Regions from separate parts of the Homo sapiens genome. Here region 2 is linked to region 1. The links are contacts of gene promoters, found by promoter capture Hi-C in blood cells and fetal thymus (Javierre and others, 2016). All regions are on one chromosome and are shown on one strand. Each heading gives the region's core, a stretch centred on a gene start or on the middle of the fragment in contact. The rest is flanking DNA. Distances are from core to core; before and after follow the strand shown.

What was found. Contacts are between HindIII fragments. The CHiCAGO score rates a contact against its expected background, and 5 or more counts as called.
Region 2: a fragment that was not itself captured here is called in contact with the fragment with the promoter of OR5K2 in region 1 in 4 of 17 cell types (non-activated CD4 T cells, total CD4 T cells, total CD8 T cells and 1 more); the score reaches 5.8 in non-activated CD4 T cells.

What each region holds. Positions count from the first base shown.
Region 1 is chr3:98,494,658-98,500,970 of GRCh38, reverse strand. OR5K2 (olfactory receptor family 5 subfamily K member 2) reads right to left here and starts at 3,290. Exons shown (of 1, transcript NM_001004737.1): 1 at 2,340-3,290. The coding sequence starts at 3,290. The coding sequence ends at 2,340. The HindIII fragment of the contact is 17,047 bases long and covers 1-6,313 here.
Region 2 is chr3:98,585,825-98,590,524 of GRCh38, reverse strand. CPOX (coproporphyrinogen oxidase) reads left to right here. Exons shown (of 7, transcript NM_000097.7): 4 at 1,671-1,812. Among named protein-coding and RNA genes, the nearest start is that of CPOX, 5.4 kb to the left of the region's middle. The HindIII fragment of the contact is 8,070 bases long and covers 1-4,700 here.

The sequences.
Region 1 (6,313 bases), core at 2,041-4,540:
CTACCTTGCATACTTAATGCATAGTGAAATGGCATCTAGCAGAAATACACACCCCCAAAACACACCACCATTTCATTAGGTGCCCAAAAAATTCTGTATTTAGCTTATTTATTTATTGTTATTTTTGCTTTTTCTTAACCCACTATATATTGACTGCAAACGAATTAATAAATTATCCCTTCTGGAACTTTTTGGTCTTTTCTTTTTTTTAATGTTTTCACTATAAAAGGTAAGCTGAAACATTGAGAAATTGTTCAAATCAGCATATTTTATAATTCACAACTACAACTTGGTAAATATTTTTACTGTAAGTAAGCACTGAAATAATGAAGTATGATGAGAGGCAGTAGTTTTTAATGCAAAGATGCAAAGTTATAAATTTAAATGTTCAGAGGGGCCAGGGAGGTGACATAAGAATTGTTGCCACTTTTTCAAGAAAAGTCAATTTTTGCTTTTATAAAAATTTTTAATAAAAATTTTAAATAAAAATTCTCCTGATATTTAAATTTCTTAAAATTAATTTTCCAAAGAACACTATGCTGTTCTGCATTGCGTGGGATAAACGATTCTGTGCAATCTCTGGGTGACCTTTTGTGATTTCTTATGTAATAATTGAGAATGTAGTTTTTGTAGTCAGGCAGCCTGGGGTTCAGGTCATGCAGACTCCTGTGGGTCACTGAACAAGTGACTCAACCATACTGTGCTTCATATTCTCACCTGTCACAAGGGATAATAATTGCAATTCTTTCACAGGATTTATGAGGGTTGGATGAGGTAATGTGTATACACAGCTTAGCACATGGACGCATAGTAAGTATCCAAGTACATTTGGTGATGCTGATGGACGTGCATTAGGCAAAAACTCAACTGATGGGGTTTAAATTTGAAACAGGCAAGGAAATACTGAAATGTCTGAGTATAATTGGAATGAACTAGGTTAGGTTTTCTTGGAGGTTACAAATATACACTATATTTTTATAGTTTTTCATTCATGATTTAGGGAATTATATCTAGAAATATATCTGTTTTCTACTCCCTTTTCTATATAGACTCAGCATGCTGATTTTCCATGTGATGCCAGCCTCTGGTGGCTGGCTAGCTTGAGGCCCACTGCAATCTGACAACTGCCTTCTGGAAATTTAGATGTGACCACAGAGCATCAAGAGAGGAGGTGGAAGGGAGAATTTTTCTGTTACTTGTTATGGGTCCTCCTTGTTCCAGAAGTTAGTAATTAAAATAATGGCAATGTTCTATTATTTAAGAAGATGAAAAGAGTGGTGTCTTGGTCATTAATATGTCTCAGCATCTAGAACAGTGCTTGCACATAGCAGAATCTCAATAAATATATGTAGAGTGAATAATTGGAAAGTATCTCTTTAATGATGTCACATAAGATTATTAGGTTCTATCCATATTAAACGACTTTAAGTTTTGCAATGGTGAAGGAATAAAAGAAAATATTTGAGATAAGCCCTGTCCACAGTCCCACAATCACACTTTTTTACATGTCTGTATATAATATACCCAAAGGTTGTGTCTCCATTGTTTAACCCCTTCCTCACCTCTCAGGAATGGGCACAGAGAAGTTTAGCCTAACTCACTGACAATGAAGGCTCTTCAGATCTACATGAAGTTTGAAATGTTTGTCTAGAACTTTATGATATGGTATCTTTATGCATGTAGGTTTTGGAGTAAATAAAACTTAATGTAACCTATCTTGAAATTTGACATTCTGATTTTAATTATTTAAATGTTTAAATCATTTAACAACAACTTCTATTTGGAAATATAATATTCACTTTTATTGGCACAATCACTTCCTGACTACCTCATTCTAACTACAATAATGTCCCCCACATGCTATTACATTTTCTTCCTCAAAATTCACTTGCCATTTTTGTTGCTCATGGATATAAGTGAGTTCGTTGGTTGACTGTTCACATGATCTTAAACACTTAACTGTAATGCACATGTTGTAAGCTATAGAGTGGGCTGGTTATCAAAGCCCGCTTTGTAAATGGTATGGCTTTTTATATTTGTAACTGGTAGTTTTGCTGTTGTTTTGGGTGTTGATCATCATTGATACTAACACAGTCTATAGGCATGGTGGCTTTCTACATTGCTGCTTGAGTGAATTCAATGTCTGCATGTGCTTTTAAATTCTGAGTAAATATTTAGCACAGTTCACTCCTTTCCATGAATTTTCCCTGTCACATATTTCTGCTTAATTTGATTGTATTTTGATATGTTTTAATATTTTGTATACAATTAGTACACTTCCTCTGTGTAATTTTATTTAGAAGTTTTTTGAGCATTAAACCATTAAGCTAGGATAGATGTCATTTGTTCACACTTCCTTGAGATTTTATTTTCAGCAGAATTTTTCTTAAGACACTTATTACTTCCTTGTTTCTCAGACTATAAATGAAAGGATTTAGTAAGGGAACTACTATTGTAAATAAAATAGCAGCTGGTATATCATTACCTCCTTCTTCAAGCAAATTTGGTCTAATGTATAGGAAAAAAATAGATCCATAGAATAATGAAACTGATGAAAAGTGGGATGCACAAGTAGAAAAGGCTTTGGCCCTTCCCTCCTTGGATTTCATTCTGAAAATAGTAAGAAGAATATAGAGATAAGATATTAAGACACTACCTATGGTAAAGACTTGAACTGAACCTGAGAAGATGAATAGAACCAGTTCATTGATGAAAGGGTCAACACAGGAGAGTCTATACAAGGGAAGAGTATCACAGTAAAAGTGGTTGATGTGATTCAATCCACAGAAAACTAACCTAAATACAAGCCCTACATGAATCATGGAATGCAGATTTCCAGCTATGAAGGCGCCTGTGGTCATCTGAATGCAGAGTTTCTTGGACATCATGATGTGGTACTGCAGTGGGTTGCAGATGGCCACATAGCGGTCATAGGCCACTGCTGCCAGAAGAAAGCAGTCTGCAGTTTCCACAGTGCAAAGAAAATAAAACTGTACTGCACATTCATAGAGGGAAATCCTTTTGCCCTCAGAAAAGAAGTTCTCTAACATTTTGGGGGTAATAGCACAGGCACAGCAAGAATCCACAAGAGCCAGATTTCCCAGAAAGATGTACATTGGTGTGTGAAGCCGACAGTGTGTAAATATCAGTGCCACCAAACTAATATTCCCCACCACGGTGATCAGATAGATGGCAAAGAACACCACAAACAGCAGAGTCTTCAGCTCAGGGTGATCTGTAAATCCTGTGAGGATAAACTCATTTTTCATGGTATGATTTTCTTCAACCATTCCTGACCTCTCTGAAAAAAATTGTAGAGGAATAAGGCACTAATTAATAATATGCCACAATTATTGACGTCTCTTTGGCTTAAAAGAAGGAGAGCATCTTCCACAATGTCTCCTCATCTTGCCTGGAATTTGGTGCATGCCCAATTCACTGCGAGAATGAGTCTCCTGAGGCTACTACTTTTGTGGCTATTGGTTGAACATGTTTCTATCATATTTTGAAAAAATATCTGATTGGGTGCACAAGGATGACTTTTGAGGTCTTGAGAGAAATATTGAGAGCACAGAACTTCTCCATATAGTATAGGTAAAGCTGATTCGTAATTTAAGTGTCAGTAATTGGTACCAGTGTTCCCGATTTCAATGTTTGTATATGTAGTGGTTAACAATGTGTTTAAAAGACTATTTTTGTATGCTAATGTTAACAGCAGCATTACCTTCAATAACCAAAACGTAAAAACAACCCAAATGTTCATGGACAGGTGAATGGATAAATAAATTGTGGTGGAATATTACTCAGTCTTAAAAAGGATTGAAATTCTCATACATGTTACAACATGGATTAACCTTGAGGACATAAGGCTGATTGAAATAAGCCAGACACAAAAGGACAAATATTGTATGATTCCAATTACATGAGAAAGCTAGAGTAGTCGAACTTACAGAGACAGAAAGTTGAATGGTAGTTGCCAGGGGAAGGGGTCTACTGGGAGCTATTGTTTAATGGGTACAGTGTTTCTGTTTAGGAAGATGAAAATGTTCTAGAGATAAATGATGGTGATCATTCCACAACAATATTAATGCACTTAATGCTACTGAACTGTACACTTAAATATGACTAAAATGATAAAAGTTATGTTGTGTATAATTTACCCCAATAAAAATATTTTTAAAATACTATTTTCATCTGCCTATTTCAGCAAATTACTATCTCCAATACTAGTGGAATATACACTTAAAAATAAGATGCTCTGGGGGAAAAGGGAATATTTATAAGATATTTATATTCCTGGGAGTTGGGGAGTAAAAGTGTTATGGATGGAAGCTGGGAGAAAAAACAAAACACTGCATTTAAAAAGTCTGGTGAGCACAGTGGCTTATGCCTGTAATCCCAGCACTTCAGGAGGCTGAGGAGGGAGCATCACTTGAATCCAGGAGTTCCAGACCAGCCTGGGCAACATAATGAGGCCCTGTCTCTTAAAAAAAAAAATAAAGTATATAAAATTACCAGGGCATTGTGACATGCTCCTGTAGTGCCAGCTACTGGGGAGGCTGAGGTGAGAGGATTCATTGAGCCTGAGAGATGGGGGCTGCAGTGAGCCATAATAGCATCACTGCACTCCAGCCTGGGTGACACAGCGAGACCCTGTCTCAAAAAAACCAAACCAAAACCAAAAAGCCTCCTATGTTACTAGTGATACTATGAGTAAAACTACTTATGTGCATAAAGAAATTAATGTTATTAAAAGCAATTGGAGAAATCCTGAGTTAAAAATATATTCGGTTGTCTAACTACGTATCAAAAAATTATGAATAAAATGTCAAACTGGGAGATTATCTGCAGTAAATTTGATAAAGTTTCTGTACCTTTGCTATAAGATCTCATACAAATGAGTAGGAATAATTACTAGAAAATAGGTAAAGCCCAGGAATAGAAAAATCTCAAAGAAAAAAACATTTTTAAGTAAATTAAAAATGTTTGATTTTATTACTAATCAGAGAAACACCATTCAGAAACACCTATGAAGCTATATTTATTTTGTATATGAAAATAAGATTAAAAAACTGATAATATTGAGCGTTATCTAGAATATAGTAAAATGGCAACCTAATTGCATTCCTGGTAAATGTATAAATTGGTGTAATCATTAGAAAATAATTTGGTAATAGATTAAAGAAACTCTTAAGGTTCATACCTTTTGATCAGTAAAAATAAATGCATCAAAAAGAAATAACTAAAACTTCAGAAAATATGTACATATAATGATGTTCATTATAATCTCACTCATAATAGTGAAAAATTTAAACACCTAAATGGTAACCAGTTAGTTAACCAGTATGATTAAATAAATGTGAACCATCCATATGAATGTATACTGACAAATATTTTAAATGGTGTTTAGCTATAATATCTATTATAATAAAACCGACATAAAAATATTGCATAAAAACAAAATAAAAAGTTTTACATGCAGTATAACCGGAATTACCAAATAAATATTTACATGTAAATGTAATAGAAGGTAGTACAGAAGCACATCAAAATGTTTTTACTAGTTTTTGCTATGTAATAAAAATTATTGGTCATTTTTTCCTCTTTATATTTTTCTCTATTTTAAATTTTCTATAATAACTGTTCCTCATATTCAGAAAACAATCTTAATTTTAAGTAAAGTGATGTACTCTTACATCTGCTATGTTTTATACTTTGATAAGTCCATAAAAATCATTGGGGATTCAACTAACGTTTTCTGCACTTTACAAATCTACAGTGGAGAACATCACAATGCACTTACTGAACAAGTGCCTGCTTCATTCTCATGGTGATGACATTGGTAGTTACAATAATTGTTTGCTGACAGTCTTGCACGTATCTCAAAACATTAAGGGATATGTTTGCATCTTGTGGTAATGCATTCTTACAGTCCTTTACCTATGAAAGCAGTATCACCTTAGTGTCAACTTCTACTCTTTTGAACATCATGATTCTATGGTATTCCTAGATTCTATGATGATCACATTTTTTAAAATTTGAGAATATTTTTAAAACTTCTGTTACTAACCCCTTAGGTATGTCCTTAAACATGGAGTTCTAACCTGCTGGAGCATGTTTTATTTTGATCTACCTTCATTTATTATAGCTACATTTGGAAGCATATATGCATTGTCCTGATATTGGATGCCTGTTTCATCCAATTACTTTCATCCTGTTACTTTCTTTAAAAGGTAGTTGAGACTGTTCTAGATATTTACAGATTGATAATTTTCTGGATAGTTACCGACCACAAGTACACTCCAAATTTCAG
Region 2 (4,700 bases), core at 660-3,159, 91 kb before region 1:
CTTTCAGGAGGCAATGTAAAGGCAATTTCTTGGCAAGTGCAATGGATTATGCCTGAGACATGACAAGTAAGAATGGGGCCAGGCTTGGTGGCTCATACCTGTAATCCCAGCACTTTGGGAGGCTGAGGTGGGCAGATCACCTGAGGTTAGGAGTTTGAGACCAGCCTGGCCAACATGGTGAAATCTCCTCTCTACTAAAAATACAAAAACTTAGCTGGGCGTGCTGGCACGCACCTGTAGTCCCAGCTATTCGGGCAGCTGAGGTGGAAGAATCACTTGAACCTGGGAGGCGGAGGTTGCAGTGAGCGGAGATTGTGCCACTGCACTCCAGCCTGGGTGACAGAGCGAGACTCCGTCTCAAAAAAACAAAACAAAACAAAACAAAAAGAATGGTATTGACTGACTCTAACCTTCCCATATTTCCTCCAACATAGAAGGAATGAACCTGAACTTTAGTGTGCACCCAGAGTTCTTTGCAAACATAAATTCATTACATCTGAAGGAATACCTTATGTACGAGGTTAAATTGAAATTGAGAACTTGCTTTTGGAAAATATTTTACATATGCATAGCTTTGCTAGTCACCAGGGCATTAGCAGTGGGTTTAAAATGGGATGCAGTTGATCATGCCTCCTGTGCACATAGTTCCAGCCTGTCTTTTATCTGATACTAGATGTCAGAGTACATGTGCAGTGCCACACCTATTCTTATTGGTGTCTCTGTAGGTGATGGCATTTAAAGTCACTGCTTTAACTTTTCATTTTGAAGCCATTCAGCTTGGTTCAACCTTTTATGTTTAAAGTTGGTAACTGGTATTGACAACTCATGGACCTGTGAGCACATGAAACAGTTATTCTCAAGTGGTAAGTTACCTCAGCAAGTGTTTTTACTCTTTCTAGGAAAGGGGAGGGGTTGGCAATGGTTCTTAATACAAGGAGTGTCAGAATCTCCTGGGGAGTTTTATAAACTACAGATTCCTGGGCCAGAGATGTGTGTGTGTGTGTGTGTGTTTATTGTGATCTAGAAGAGCTATTTTAAGCTCGTCATGTGATTCTTATATACAGCCAGAGTTGCAATCCACTTCCTGATCCACCAGTGTACTGTTTTATCATTCACTGCCCTGCATATCATTCCTTGCAAGTTCCACTGTCTTTCTTTCTTTCTTCTTTTTTCTTGTTGTTTTGTTTTGTTTTATTTTGTTTTTTGAGATGGAGTCTCACTCTTGTTGCCCAGGCTGGAGTGCAGTGGCGCTATCTCAGCTCACTGCAACCTCCACCTCCTGGGTTCAAGTGATTCTCCTGCCTCAGCCTCCCGAGTAGCTGGGATTATAGGTGACCACCACACCCGGCTATGTTTTGTATTTTTAGTAGCAACGAGGTTTCACCATATATTGGCCAGGCTGGTCTCGAACTCCTGACCTCAGGCGATCTGCCTGCCTGGGCCTCCCAAAGTGCTGGGATTACAGGCATGAGCCACCTCGCCTGGCCGCTTTTACCTCTTTTTTTCTGCCTAGGCCTTACTGGTCTTCAGAGCTAAAATCAGTTAAAATTTTTTTTATTGTCATCCATTTTATGCTGAAAAAATTAAGCTGCTAAATTAAGTGTCCTAATATAGCCAGTAATGCTGAATCTCAAAAGTCCACATTAGAATCCCATGTCTTGATTTGGTAGGCAACAAGCAGTGGTGGTTTGGTGGTGGATGTGACCTCACTCCAACATACTTGAATCAAGAAGACGCTGTCCATTTTCACAGAACTCTGAAGGAGGCTTGTGACCAGCATGGTCCAGATCTCTACCCCAAATTTAAAAAATGGTAGGTAAAGTTACTGAACTTTCATGACCCCAAAATTACATTCTGTTCCTTCTGAAGGCAACTATTATGTCACTAAATACCCTCTTCTGCTTATGAAAATGGAACTAGTTTTCTTACTTTGCTCATCAGAAGAATTAGAATACTGGTTTTAAGTGGTTGTATTAAATTATTTACTTAGAAATATTTAATATAAATTGAGTAGTAATATCTTTTTATTCCAAATGATTTAGAATGGTAGACTATAAACTATAAGGTCATCTATGCTTGAGAATGAGAGGCTTTTTAATCTGGAGTGGGTTGTTAAATTCTTATTCCAGATGAGAATTATTATTCCTGATGTTGACTTGGGAATGTCTAAGGGCATTGGAAGGGTTGGAGAACCACTAGAGGGAGATGCCAACATACCAGAGATTTTGGCCAAGGGGAAAGAAGAATTGGAGAATTTGTTAAAGAAATTCTAATGATAAAATAAGAAAACAAACAAAAGTTGGGAGAAGACCCAGAATATTTGTTATCATCAAATGGAATCTTGGCACAAATTGTTTGGAATATGAGTAAAGTACTCAATTCTGCTTAGAGCCAATTGGCATTCTTGAAAAAGGAAGGACAAAGAATTTTTGTCTTTTTGCTTTGTTTTTAGAGCTAATAGTTGTGGAATGTTAATATTTATGCAAGAGTATGGAGTTCAGCTTTAAAATCGTCAGGAAAGATGAAACATTTGAATATTCTCTTGATTTAATATTACTACTGAAAACTACACAGCCATGGATGCATGCAGATACTGGTTTTTTGTTTGTTTTTTCCTCTCTCTCAGAACTTAGCATCCTTCCAGGAGGACTAATAGAGTAGACAGTTCTCTTTTTTGGTTCCTTTTTCTAGCTATTACTGAGATGACTTTAAGCAGTGTTAGGTAATAAAATATCTAGGATGGTAGCTAGTTAAAAAGAAGTTTTTAGTATAAATGCTTTGGTTTGAATATTTGTTCCCTCCAAAACTCATGTCGAAATTTAACCCCCAATCTGGCAGTATTAAGAGCTGGGGCCTTTAAGAGGTGATTGGGCAGAGCCCTGATGGATGGATTAATCCATTCATGCATTAATGGGTTAAATTCATGGGAGTGGGACTGGTGGCTTTATAAGAAGAGACCTAAGCTAGCACGTTCAGCCCCCCACCATGTGATGTTGTGCACTGCCTCAGGACTCTGCAGAGACCCCACCGGCAAGAACACTCATACTAGATGAAGCCCCTCAACCTTGGACTTCTCAGCTTCCATAACTTAAGAAATAAGTTCCTTTTATTTATAAATTATGCAGTTTCAGCTATTCTGTTGTAAGCAGCAGAACACTGACTAGGAAATAAGTAGATCACTTAATTTTGTAATGTTTTAAAGAGAGATTTTGAAATAGTATGATTTGGGTTAAAAACTGACTTTACAACTTTACTCAGGATATACTTTTTTAGACTATGTTAATAAAATGTGCATATAAAGAAGGCCAACAAGTCACGATTAAGGTGAATTCTACCTATGCGTCAGTTCTAGGGATTTGCATCTGTTGTTTTTTGTTGTTGTTGTTTAAGCAATTGAAGCTGTATTTAAGGTAACCTTTTAAATAGCTTTTAGTTTTTGTTTGAGCATGTTTTTCTATTTAAGGACCCTTATGCAGAGATTATCAAAAGAACTACTTTTAGGATATAAACTATTTTACAAGTTTAACAGTTAGGAAATGGCTTCTTTTTTGTTTGTTTGTTTGTTTGTTTGTTTGTTTTTTGAGATGGAGTCTCACTCTGTCGCCCAGGCTGGAGTGCAGTGGTGCGATCTCGGCTCACTGCAAGCTCTGCCTTCCGGGTTCACGCCATTCTCCTGCCTCAGCCTCCCGAGTAGCTGGGACTACAGGTGCCCACCACCACGCCTGGCTAATTTTTTGTATTTTTAGTGGAGACGGGGTTTCACCGTGTTAGCCAGGATGGTCTCGATCTCCTGACCTCGTGATCCGCCTGCCTCGGCCTCCCAAAGTGCTGGGATTACAGGCGTCAGCCACCGCGTCCGGCCCAGGAAATGGCTTCTTAGGAAACCTGTTCTAGTAGTCATAGAGGGGAAAAGACTCAAGAACAGATTAATAGTTTTATGTGCTGCCTCACAGGGTAAACTTTCATATGTCTGATATGACATATGAAATAATAAAAGATATCATCTGAACCTTTTTTTCCACCAACTTTTCCCTGTCTTTCATGCTATAGAACCATCAAATTTTATTTCTGAAAGAGACCTGAGAGATTGTTTATAGTACCTTCCTTTGGTGAATAAAGAACTCACTCAAGAGAGCTTGGATTTGCACCATGGTTGGTGTCATTGTTAGTGGAAGATTCCTGTCCTCCTGCCTCCTACAAAAGCAGCAGTGCTTCCGAAGGCAGCAGCTTATTCCAAGAAATACACTATCGATATTGGACTGTTTCTCTTTTCACTAAAGTTCTTAGAGTTTCACATCCTTTACAGAGACTTGTGTGAAATTGCCTGTTCGCCTTGAAAATAAGAGGATAAGCAGCCAGGCATGGTGGCTCACGCCTGTAATCCCAGCACTTTGGGAGGCCGAGGCAGGCAGATCACGAGGTCAGGAGATCGAGACCACCCTGGTTAACACAGTGAAACCCCGTCTCTACTATAAATACAAAAAATTAGCCAGGTATGGTGGTGGGCACCTGTAGTCCCAGCTACTTGGGACGCTGAGGCAGGAGAATGGCGTGAACCCGGGAGGCGGAGCTTGCAGTGATTCAAGATCGCACCACTGCACTCCAGCGTGGGGGACAGAGCAAGAGTCCGTCTCAAAAAAAAAAAGAAAAGAAAAGAAAAAGAGGATAAGCATTTTCTACCTTGGTGATATCTGCAAAAA